2 separate regions of the Homo sapiens genome follow, and region 1 is linked to region 2. Evidence: promoter capture Hi-C in human tissues and cell types (Jung and others, 2019). All regions are on one chromosome and are shown on one strand. Each heading gives the region's core, a stretch centred on a gene start or on the middle of the fragment in contact. The rest is flanking DNA. Distances are from core to core; before and after follow the strand shown. Region 1 overlaps BLNK (B cell linker). Region 2 holds the start of CCNJ (cyclin J).

Evidence for each region. Contacts are between HindIII fragments. The study calls those that stand out against the background at their distance.
Region 1: a contact is called between a fragment that was not itself captured here and the fragment with the promoter of CCNJ in region 2, in 1 of the 25 tissues and cell types used here (lymphoblastoid cells).

The regions. Positions count from the first base shown.
Region 1 is chr10:96,200,711-96,206,569 of GRCh38, reverse strand. It overlaps BLNK (B cell linker), which reads left to right. Exons shown (of 17, transcript NM_013314.4): 12 at 1,954-2,038; 13 at 2,482-2,513; 14 at 5,512-5,588. It also overlaps a transcript of ZNF518A not described here. Among named protein-coding and RNA genes, the nearest start is that of BLNK, 68 kb to the left of the region's middle. The HindIII fragment of the contact is 3,857 bases long and covers 1-3,745 here.
Region 2 is chr10:96,042,219-96,048,458 of GRCh38, reverse strand. CCNJ (cyclin J) reads right to left here and starts at 4,876. Exons shown (of 6, transcript NM_001134375.2): 1 at 4,740-4,876; 2 at 3,997-4,106. The coding sequence starts at 4,065. The region is part of intron 2 of ENTPD1-AS1 (ENTPD1 antisense RNA 1); the gene reads left to right. RefSeq lists silencers at 4,596-5,165, 5,293-5,487. The HindIII fragment of the contact is 11,661 bases long and covers 1-6,240 here.

The sequences.
Region 1 (5,859 bases), core at 568-3,067, 160 kb before region 2:
CCTTTTTTTTTTTTTTTTTGAGTTAGGGTCTCACTTTGTAGCCCAGACTGGAGTGCAGTGGTGCATAATTATAGCTCACTGCAGCTTCAAATTCCTGGGCTCAAGTTGTCTTTCTGCCTCAGCCTCCTGAGTAATTTAGAATTTCTTCCTTTATCATCACTCAAAAATCTTATATATATTTTTAGAAACTGCTCATGTTAAAAAAAATTGTGTTTGGAAATTACCGGAAAAAAATAGAAGAATCATCTATAATATCAGCACTTAAAACATTATATAGAAGTTCATGCCCTGTACCCATTTAATTCCATACTTGAAGATACCCAGGGTTAAAAATGTAGTGAGTATTCTCCCTCTTCCCTGAGTTGATGTGCGTATATCTACATAAAGCACTCTCCTTTCTCTGATGATGGACAGTGGATCTTTTCTGAGCATGCACTACAACTCACCTCTCTGCTTTAATGACGCCATTAGGTTTTTTCATCCTGTCTCCCATATCTTGCTTCCCTAGGCTATTTCTGAGGCATCACCCCTTTTCTGCTGTATTGCTTTCTTCTGCCTTCCCTTTGAGGCTTTTGTCTTTTCTGTACTTCCATTCCTTGCAGCCTCTCAGACCTGCTGAGTCCAGGTTGTGGAGTGATAGTGACTTCAGGAGCTCTGAGCATCTGTAGGAAGTAAGTACAACCTGTGCAGACTTCATGGCTACAAGAGCCTCCAAAATCCAGGAAAGAAGCAGGGCCCAAGGCATGTCCACTGCTGCTTAGGTGTCCTCATTCTCAAAGGGTTCCCAGTACAGGAGCCTGCCAGGCATGCCCCCTCCTTTGTTATTTATTTCAAGAGCATAGGCAATTACCATCCAAATGCAAAGTGAGTGAGTGGCCTCTACTAGCCTAGGAAGGAATCAGGATGGCGGAGGCAGAGCAGGTGTAGTCAAAGCTTATAGGCTGGCAAGACCTAAGGTGTTCATTGTTTCTCCTTCTGAAATTACCAAGTTTTAATGTCATGAGCAAAACATCTAACATAGAGGTTTGAAGTAGCTTGCCACAAATTCAAAATACAATCTTCAGAGGTTCAAGGTTTCCAAGCTTTAGTGCACCACTGAATGGTAAGAAACCCTGACGTCTATCTTACCATTTATTTGAATCTTTGAGTTCTTACTACTTTTATTTCTTTGGGGTTTCTGTAGTTCTCAGCCTTTCTTCCATGCAGACTCACACATGAACATACCAAGATTTTAACACACCCCACCCCCCAACGACAAATTTGAGGGAGAGTAAAGTATTAAAATAATGTGTGATCACATTTATTAATGGTTCAGCAGTAGAGTTCACTATGGGCTTCAACATAAATTTCTTACACTTCAGGTTTATGCTCATTTCCCACCCTTTCCTCTTCTGCTCAGGAAAACACTGAAATGCAAGTGAGATTTACATTATTATAGGGATAACCTTGAATTTGATCCAATTAATTTTGCAAAAAGAGATCATTTATGAACTCAGTAGTGTGCCTCTTATCAGTAACACACTGCTTATACCACGTCTTATGACTAATCAAGACCCACCAGGGTGTTGTCTCCACCTGTGTGGAGGCCACATGGCAAGTAGAGGGTGAGTTGTTTAGAGGGTGGCTAAAATGTTCTCATCTTCTGGCTTCCACCTATACTCACACACTTAAAGTTTCAGGGCCCGTGGGTTCAGTCTCTATGTACATTGCCAGTGGATGAATGCAGAGGTGGTAGGATGTACCTGTAACACTGCTGGGAGGGAGTCCTGGTCCTCATAGCACAACCACATCAACAGACTGGCAAGTGCACAGATCCATGACATCTCAGTAACTAAGACATGTTCCCGGGAAGACTTCTGATCAAATTTGGTTCTTCTCAGCTGATGTTGCTGGGTTTTGGGATGAGGACAGACATTTCACTCTAATCCTAATATGATAATTTTCCTGATCCAGAAAAACCTATACCTGCTGAACGCCACCGAGGGTCAAGTCACAGACAAGAAGCTGTGCAGTCACCAGTGTTTCCTCCTGCCCAGAAGTAAGAATCCTTTCCTTTAAAGATCAGTTTCCTCTTGTTGCTGCAGGAATTAACATGTGCATTGTTTCACTGCACAGTGACACTGACTTGCAGTGCTAGGTAAAAATCCAACATTTCATTGTTTTGCAGTTACGTGTTAAAAGGTGTTGAGCAACTTTAAAATAACTGTGTAGAGTTGCAGAGACCTACTAATTGGGTTAATTATTGAACTTGACTAAAATACAATACTTTAGTCAAGATTTCCTCCTTTTTCAAAACTAAAAGGAAGAGTCTTACTTATCTTTAAGGTTTTGGTGGCTCTTTTATCTTTAGATACATTTTATTGGCCATTTGTATTGATTTATTTGTGATGTGCCTGTTCACAGCATCATCAGTGTAAACAAAAAGTCAAACTTACTCATATTGTGCTTTGTCCTTTAATTATCTGAAATTCTTTCTTGCAGACAAATCCACCAAAAACCCATACCTCTGCCAAGTAAGTACAACGAAGCCATGTAGTGTATCAGGGAGTGGTCGAGGCTGGATCCTAGAGTCTGATAGGCCTGGGTTCTAACACAGCACTGTCGCTTCCAGCTGCGTTATCCTGGCATCTTCTCCCACTTGTTTCCTTACCTGTAAAATGGGGCCAAGAATGTTTATTTCACAGAGTTGTTTTGAAAAGTAAATATATTTGAGGCAATTTTTACTTTTTTTAGTAGCGATTTAATATTTTACTGATCATGCATCCTTTTTTAACTTTTTTTTTTTTTACAAAAACAATACAGCTGTTTTCAAAATAATAAGATCAAGTAAAACAACATATGGGAAGCACCAGCTATAGTGTTTGGTTCTAAACAAATAATACCGATTTAAATTAAGTCAAAATATATTTTAAAGATCACAAAATATGTCTACAAAAGGTACCTTAAAAAGAAGATACGGCAAATATCTGGATAATTTTTCCAAGGCAAACATCACCCTAAAAATATATGAATCGGATAAGTCAGGCTCACAGAACGTAACTGCCCAAACCTTAATTTGCCTGCAACTCAATGTGGGAAAAAAAGGAAGAAAAAAACTCTGCTTTACATAGATAATTTGGGATATATTCCAAAATAATAAAGCTTAAATCCATTTAAATAAACAGTAATTGTCCACATGCAAAATTTTTATGCATTTTTTTTACTAAACATAAATTGGCTTTTTAAATTTTTAATAATATTCATCTTAAATAAATGAAACTTTTACTAGTTTTTAAAAAAAATTCTGACAACACAAAGTGAAAATGATTTGGCTACAGAAATTTATTTTTCATTATTTAAAAAGGTTTATTATACCTTTTACCGTTTTTCAAACCAAGTCATTCATTCAGTTGTTAGTGACCATATGCCGTGTGCCAGGCATTGTTCTAGGCACAGGAGATACAAGGATGAACGAAACAAATAAAGACCCTGTCCTCATGAAACTTATATTCTACTGAAGGAGACAGAGAGTAAAAATAAACGCACAAATAATATCATATCAGGTAAATGCTGAAGTGCTATAAAGAAAAATACAGCGCAGCAGCAGGGGTGGGTGGCAGAGAGTAACGGAGGCAGGGAGGGCTGCTGCTGTAGACAGGATGGTCTGAGAAGGCCTGTTCTATAAAATGGGCATAATAGCTCATTCCACAAAGAGCTGGTGAAAGGACGAGATGCACGCATGTTGAAAACAGAATAGGCCTAGCACATTCGGGTGTCAGAAAATATTAGCCATGGGTACTCTTCCAACTGCCAGAACTGCAGAAACCACAAACTGCCCTGCACTGTGCACCTAGGGAAAGTCTGTTCACTCACTCACCTTTGCTGCTCTCACCTGGGAGTGCTGTTCCCCTCCTATTAGAATACATCCTTCCTTTTGGCCCATCTTTGTTGGGCCTGCCAAGCCCTCACTGCCCCCTCCTCTTACAATGGTGGCTGCCTTCTCTAAACATCCAGGGCACTATTATCTGAAGCACTTAGTTTATCCAGAATTCTTTCTCCTGCAGATTTCCCCATCTTAATAAAGGACAACTCTGGTTGCTGTTGTCAAAAACCTTAGAGTCACCCTTGACTTCTCACTTGCTTTCTTCACACACCTTCCAGCTATTCCTTCAAAATAGATCCAGAATCCAACCACTCTCACTGCTTCCACTGCTGTGATCTGTCCAAGTCACTGTCATCTCCTGCAAGAACACCGAACTGGCCTCCCCCACTCTGCTGTTGCCACCCTCTGTTTCCAGCCCAGCAGCTGGAATGACCCTGTTAAAACATAGGCAGATCATGTTACCCCCCTGTTCAAAACCCTCCAAAAGCTTCCCTTATCATGTTCATTACAGCTCTTGAGTCATGTTAAGGGTCCACCAAGTCCTATAAATCTGGTCCCTTCATTGCCTCCTGTCTGACTGTATCTCTTACTCTTCTCCCCTTTTCTTACTGTACTCCAGGCACAGTGGCACCCTTGCTATTCCTTAGATATGCCAGGCCTTGCCTTCACAGCTCCCTCTACCCGGGACATTCTTTCCTGGGATGTCCAGTGCCTCCTCCCTCTCCACCTGCAGATCTCACCCACATATTCTTCCTTTCCTGATTTATTTTTCTTCATAGCATTTATGACCCTCTAACATTATATATATATTTTTTACTTATGTCTTTATTGCCCATCTCAATCCATTAAAATTTAAGTTCCAGGAGAGCAGGGCATTTTGCTGTTTTGTTAACTGCTGTATATCCCCAATGCCTTTGATCCATGGCAGAGAAACAAGAATGAATGAATGAATGAATGAATGAATGAATGCAGATAAGTCTTTTTCGTATTTCACATGTTTCCACATTTAGACTGTAAACTCTTTGAGGGAGTTGATGCCTGAAGTCAGCAATTCTCAGACATTTTGGTCTCAGAACCACTTTAACACTCTTAAAATAATTGTAGACCCAAAGAGCTTTGGTTTACATGTTTCTATTGATACCTAGTATTTTAAGAATTAAAACTGAGACATTTAAAACATTTATTAATCCATTTAAAAATAATATTAAACTCATTACATGTTAACATAAATAATATTTTTATGAAAAATAACTATATTTTCCAAACAAAAACAATTTAGGGAAAAGAGTGGCATTAGTTTACATTTTGTAAATCTCTTTAATGTATGTTACTGCAACATAACAGAGACTGCTGGATTCTCATCTCTGTTTCTACATTTCATCTGTTGCAATGTTTTTCTGGTGGAACTACATGAGGAAAATTGGGTTTCATAGTGATAGGTAATTCAAAAAGAAAAGACCTCTTGAACCACCTGAAAGGATTTTCGAGATTTCCAGGGGTCCTTGGACCACACTTTTGGAACCATTGCCTTAAGGATTTTTTTTGGTGGATGTGTCCCTGGCAGCACCTAGTACAGTGTTAGGGGATAGGCATAGAAAGAGTTCAAGAAATATGAAGATTAATTGAAGGACTTTTCTGATCCCTTTCAGGATTTACAGAAGGGGGAAACCCAACTGTGGATGGGCCCCTACCCAGCTTTTCATCTAATTCCACTATTTCAGAACAGGTATGAAATGAACTCTTGATGTCACTAAATTGTTACCAGGAAACTGCAGGAAAGAGCATGTCTTCTGAGAAGAAGACATTTGGAGTGAACCTTGAGAACAGAGACTGTATTTTACATCATTATGTGAACTGTCATTTGGTAATAGGGACAGAATACCCAGTTGTTGTTTTTTTTCAATGACTAAGACATTGCTCCAGTTAATGTTTCCTCAAAACTAGCAAGGAAATGTGTTTTCATTATTCTTCCTCTCACATAGATTTTATTTAAACTT
Region 2 (6,240 bases), core at 3,627-6,126:
TTTATGTTATGACAGCTGCTGGCAAGGTTGTGGAGAAAAAGGAACGCTTTTACACTGTTGGTGGGAGTGTAAATTAGTTCAACCATTGTGGAAGACAGTGTGGTGATTCCTCAAAGACCTAGAGGCAGAAATACCCTTTTACCTAGCAATCTCATTACTGGGTATATAACCAAAGGAATATAAATCATTCTACTATAAAGACACATGCATGTGTATGTTCACTGAAGCACTATTCACAAGAGCAAAGACATGGAATCAACCTAAATGCCCATCAATGATAGACTGGATAAAATGTGGTACATACAGACCATGGAATACTGTGCAGCCATGAAAAGGAACAAGATCACGTCCTTTGCAGAGAGATGGATGGAGCTGGAGGCCATTATCCTTAGCAAACTAATGCAGGAAAAGAAAACCAAATACCACATGTTCTCACTTATAAGTGGGAGCTAAATGATGAGAACACATGGACACATGTTGCGGGGAACAACACACACTGGGGCCTGTCGGAGGGTGGGGGTGGGAGGAGGAAGAGGATCAGGAAGAATAGCTAGTGGATGCTGGGATTAATACCTAGGTGATGGGATGATCTGTGCAGTAAGCCACCATGGCAAACGTTTACCTATGTAACAAACCTGCACATCCTGCACACGTACCCCTGAACTTAAAAGTTGGGGAAAAAAAGTTTTATGTTGATACATTTTACGATAAACAAAAAAGGGAAGTTATATATTCACCTAACTTAATATTACCTAAGATAAATGGATAAAATAGTCAATGTAATTTAGTAGTGTAGCCAAAGAATACATCAATTGTTGTTTTTTGAGACAGGGTTTCCTGTAGCCCAGGCTGGAGTACAGTGGTGCCATCTTGGCTCACTGCACCCTCCACCTCCCAGGCTCAAGCAATCCAACCACCTCAACCTCTGGAGTAGCTGGGACTACAAGCGCTCACTGCCACGCCCAGTTAGTTTCTGTACAACAGGGTCTCGCTATGTTGCCCAGGCTGGTCTCCAGCTCATGGACTCAAGTGATCCACCTGCTTTCAGCCTCCCAAAGTGTTGAGATTACAGGTGTGAGCCACCATGCCTGGCCAAAAAAATTTTTTTTTTCCACATAAAGGGAAGATGCCGATTTCTCATGTAGTTCCTAGGATTTTTCTTTTCTCCTTAACTCTTTCTTTGGATCTTTACAATGGTGTAAGTGAGTTGCAACTTTACCTTTGCTGCCACCATGTGACATTTATTGAGCATCTCCCATGCAGCAGACACTATACTAACCCAGGCATAAAAGCTGGAAAAACAGTCTCAAGCCTATCTCTAGCAGGTGAATCAAATACAGAGCTTATCACACAATATAGTCACCACAGGTTATTATGGCAACACCTAGGAAGAAAATCTAACTTAGCTCAGGGATTAGGGAGTTGGGGAAAAAAGGCAAAACCAGAGCAGGTTTTCCCAAAAAGTGGCCTGAACATGGTCTTAAAGACTCCCTGGAAACACCTGGAAAACACTGATGGACTTCACTTTCTTAATGTTTCTCACAAAGCTAGAATTGTTCCCATTTGTCATTAAGGCTCCTAAAAACACTTTCCCAAACAGCCTATGACACTAACTATACACAGCAAAATAATGAGAAGAAAGGAGACAAAAGGGTGTAAGGTGACAGCTGCTTTGTAGGGGTTTTTTGAGGGAGTGGATAGTTGGCATGATTTCCATTCATTGTCATTTTCACTCTTCCCTAGTAAACACAATGCTAGTCACACCAAATATTTCTCCACAAACCTAGGGCCTAAACATAGAATACCTTCTGCAGTATCTCAATGGCAACTGCCCAAAGGAAGACCTAAATGTGGATGCTCTAAATTATAGATAAGGTTAGACTATGAAGGCAAGGATCATGTCTCGTTCACTGTTATTGCTCTAACACCTGGCATGATATCATGTATGTCATAAATGATCAACATGTTGAAGAAAAACAGATGACTATCCGACTGAATCACCAATTAATAGCCTGGAATTACCACGTCTTTTCTAGGAGAAAAGTCCATTTTAAGTTTCCTTCAGTGTATTACAAACAGTGGTCTCTCCAGTTCCACAAGTTTAAGTTTTACAGATTAATGTAAATTCTTGTATAAAGTGTTGCCAGTAAGAACCATGGTTTGCATAATGCTTAAACATAAAGACAACCCAGGGCAGTAGGCCATAGGTGGCCCAATAAAACTTTCAGTGGCATTCCTTCACACCCTGTGCTACCTTGTCCTCTGATAGTTCATAAGCAACTTGAGTGAGTATAAGGTTGGGTCTTATGCCTTGGATGCTCCAGAAACTAATCCACAAAAGCCTTCAACAAATCTAAATCTAGGAGAAAAAACAAAAAAACAAAGAACCCATGTCCAAACTCAATTGACAAAATGCAGATAATCACTCACGAATTAAAATGATCTACACATAAAATGATTGAAAAGTATGGAAATCACCAAGAAAAACCTTTTAAGTTTCATGCCAATTAAAAAATATACTCTTGGCTGGGCGCAGTGGCTCATGCCTGTAATCCCAGCACTTTAGGAGGCCGAGGCAGGTGGATCACCTGAGGTCAGGTGAAACTCCAACTCAAAAAAAAAGTACTCTTAATATCAACTAATTAATTTCACTACATACCAGAGGGATAAAAAGGCTGACACTTAAAACACTTTTCAAAATATGTGCAACTATATTAATTTTTTTAAAAAAGAAAACATTTCACATTGAAAGATGACATCTGCCAAAAAAAAAAAAGATCAAAAGTGTATCTGGACAATTTTCCAAGAAACTGCAACTCTTTCCTAACTAACACTCCAGAGATCCCATTAGTTAGAATTTTTATGTGGTATAAACCATCTCCTAGGGGGCTGAACTGTATTTTAGTGAATCTAAGAGACTGAATGTCAGAATTAGTTAAGTAGCATTTAGAAATCTCAGGCCTAGAAAAGGGTAACAATTTAAGTCAGAATTAGGTTTTCCAATCTACTTGACCTGGTCAGAAACTCAAGATAAAAGTTCATTATCATTCCAGGATCTCAACCCCAAGAGTCAGAATCCTTTTTATTGAAAGTCAGCTGTTTTGCTTCTTTCTCAATTTTCTACATTTAACAAATGGCTTTCTTTATCCAAGGTGAAACTGAGTTAAGCTAGAGATCATTTTGGATCTGGTCTCTCTTTTGGTTATCGAAGAGGCAGAAATGTCTCATTAATCTGCCTTGCCACATGCAGAGTAAAACCGTTACTTAATAGCAACAATACACAGACTTTGCTTTGTGTTGGAAAAGTATTTTTTTCCAATATCTATTAAGTCTACTTTCTGCCTTTGATATCAGCAGGAAGGGGCAGCCAACTCCCTCCACTTTAGGGCTTTTGAACAGCCCAAATCCTGAGGGGTAAGTGATAAGAAGTTATCACTTAGTGCTTACTATATACCAAGAGCAGTTTCTAAGCACATGTACGGTACTAACTTAAGTTTCACAATCGCCAGAATCATAAGGCACACTCATTATTCCTCATTTTACAGATGAGGAAATCAAGAAACAGAAATTTCACTTGTCCACGTCTCACGGCAAGTTAGCGGAAAGGCTGAGGAATTTATGTACAAAAGCGACTTAAACTGGCTGCATGCAACGGCAACTCTCGAACAAAGAGGGCTGTTCTGCCCAACAAAAATTCAGTGTATATATCTTTTAAAATACAAGATCAAATTCATGACCCACCTGGAAGCCAGAACGCCCCTTTCCACCTTCCCTGGCCCAACTACCATCTCCCTACTCATTCAGGTTGCAGGTTCTTTTGATACATCCCAGAGAAGGAGCCAAGAAGTTAATTAACCTTGAGCAAATGAGCAAACTCGCCTTTTCTGGCCCGGAAGATAGTGAGTAAAGAACCTGACTAGACCTTCTAGAGAGCCGAGATTCAGAACAACTGGCGCGACACACAGAAGGAGAAGGCAGGCCGGGCCTCGGAGTTACCTTGTAGCGAAGCGCTTGGTGAATATCGGCGGCCAGCTGTCCTCGCCACCACTGCCCCTCCAGCTCCATGGGACCCGGCGGCGCGCCCAGCCCGACGCGGCAACTCGAGTCTGTAAGACACACCCCAGGCGCGGTCACTGCCGGCTCCCCCGCGACCCTCTGCGCCCCCTCCCCGGGGGGTGTGACCTCAGGCCACCCGGTGTGGCTGCTCATCTTCACTTGACTCTTCCTCAACCCAGCCCGACCCGAGTCGTTTCCCCCAACGCCACACGCGAAGCCGGGTCTGCCCCCGCAGGAAGAGCCGAAGGACTCTGAGACTCACTGCTCGACTATGTGTCGGGCAAAAGGGGATCCACTCGGGCCCTGAGTTGCCAAAGCGCGGAGCCAGGTGCGAGCTCGGGAAGAGCTGGGGGAGGCCCGGCTGGGGCTCCCTGCGTCCGGGGCTGGAGTTCTCCCGCCCTCCCTGAGGAGCGGGGAGAGGTGACACGCTCATAGCCCCGCTGAGGGGAAACGCTCCCATGGCAAAGCCCGGGGGTGAGCGTCTGCCTGGCCGCGGGTCTCCGCATGGACGTCGGGAGCCTGCTCCTCCCCGGGAGCCCCGAGAAACGCACGTTCCGCGCGGCCTCAGAAAGGGGAACAAAAGGCCGGGCCAGCCAGGCTCTGCGCCTCACCCCGGGAGGGTCCGCTGCCCCACGCCTACCCCAGGCCTGCCGGGCCGCCCGGCCCCACGCTGGCTCCCTTACCCGGAACCGCGGCCCTCACAGCCCCAGCCCCGCCGTCGTGCGGCGGACGCCGGCCCCGCTCATGCTGCGGACAGTGGGCCGCTAAGCGCCGGCCTCAGCTAGAGCCCAGCGCCTGGACGCTCGCGCCGCCCATTGTTAAAGGACCGGCAGGCGGCTCCGCATACAAAGCCAGCGCGGGGGCACTTGAGGCCCCGCCGCTGCCAATCTCGTCTCGCGATACAGCGGGGTCGCCCCGAGCCGTCCAATTGGCGGCCGGGCCGGGCCCAGGTGCAGCGCCAGGCGGCGGCGCGGCGGCTCCCGCCTGGGTACGGTCAGCATCCCGCACGGCGCGGCGTGGCCTGGGCTGGCCTGGCGCTTCGGTTGCCGGGGCGCTCAGCCGCCACCTACTGCGAAGCCGGCCTGATCGCCGGCTGAGGTCGGCAGAGAGCGCCGGAGAAATTGTAAGGTGGATCACTGCAGTGACCAATCCAGTTAGGCCACTCACCTGCTGAGAACCTTCGATGGCTCCTCGATGCCCGCGGAGCAAAGTTCCGACGCCTCAGTTTGGCGTTTAAAAGTCTTCACGGCATGGATTCGGTTTACCTTACTTCACGTTGCACCAACCGCTTCCATCCCAGGGGCTGCTCCGTGGATCATCAGGCCCTCCAAATGTGCTTTAGCTGTTTCTGCAGCCCCTGAAGCGTTTTTTTTTTCCTGTGAAATTATGCTCTTTTTTTAAGTTCCACCTCAAACTCCACCTTTCTTCTAGAAACCTAATTAATCTCTTCCCCCTCCTTATTTTCGTTGCTGTAGGGATTCCCAAGAGCTTTGAATGAAGACATTTAAGATTACTTCTAGTAACCTTGCTTGTCAAACCCATGGTGGATGTAATTAACCATCTGTGCTCGTAAATCAGGAAACTGCAAAACTGTGAGAACACTCCGACGTCAATTGAGGTGATATGGGGGCTGAAATGTGATTAGAGGAAACCTAATCAATTGTATTTTAACCTCTTTGGTGGATTATCACAAAAGAGGTGGATGGTAACCCTAGGACAGTGAGACTGTCCACTTTTCTGAGACTGGAGATCAATCTCTTAATAGTAAAACGTAAATATTTTTAAAACTTCACCCCTTTTACTTTGAATCCTTTGTCCAAAAAGATACATGATGATAAAGAACTACTACAAAGTGATAAATACATTTTATGTGATTCTGGGTGGCATCTTCATTTGAAGATCATCAGCAGACATGTATATGAGCCGTACCCTATCCATAGACGATGCTTATACCCAGGAGAGCAGGCCCGCAGGAACCAAAGGCAAGAAAAGGGAAACTCAGAAGCTGAAGTTGGCAGATCCCGGCCTAACCCGACATAGTCCAGGGAGAAGGCTGCCCTGGCCTGTCTCTCAGTTGCAGGGTCCTCTAGAGTGAAGGTAGACACATCAGGCTAAAAGCTTCATGCCATTTTTAATGGCATTTAAATAGTGTCTACATCCTTGGGTTCCATTTCATGACTATTA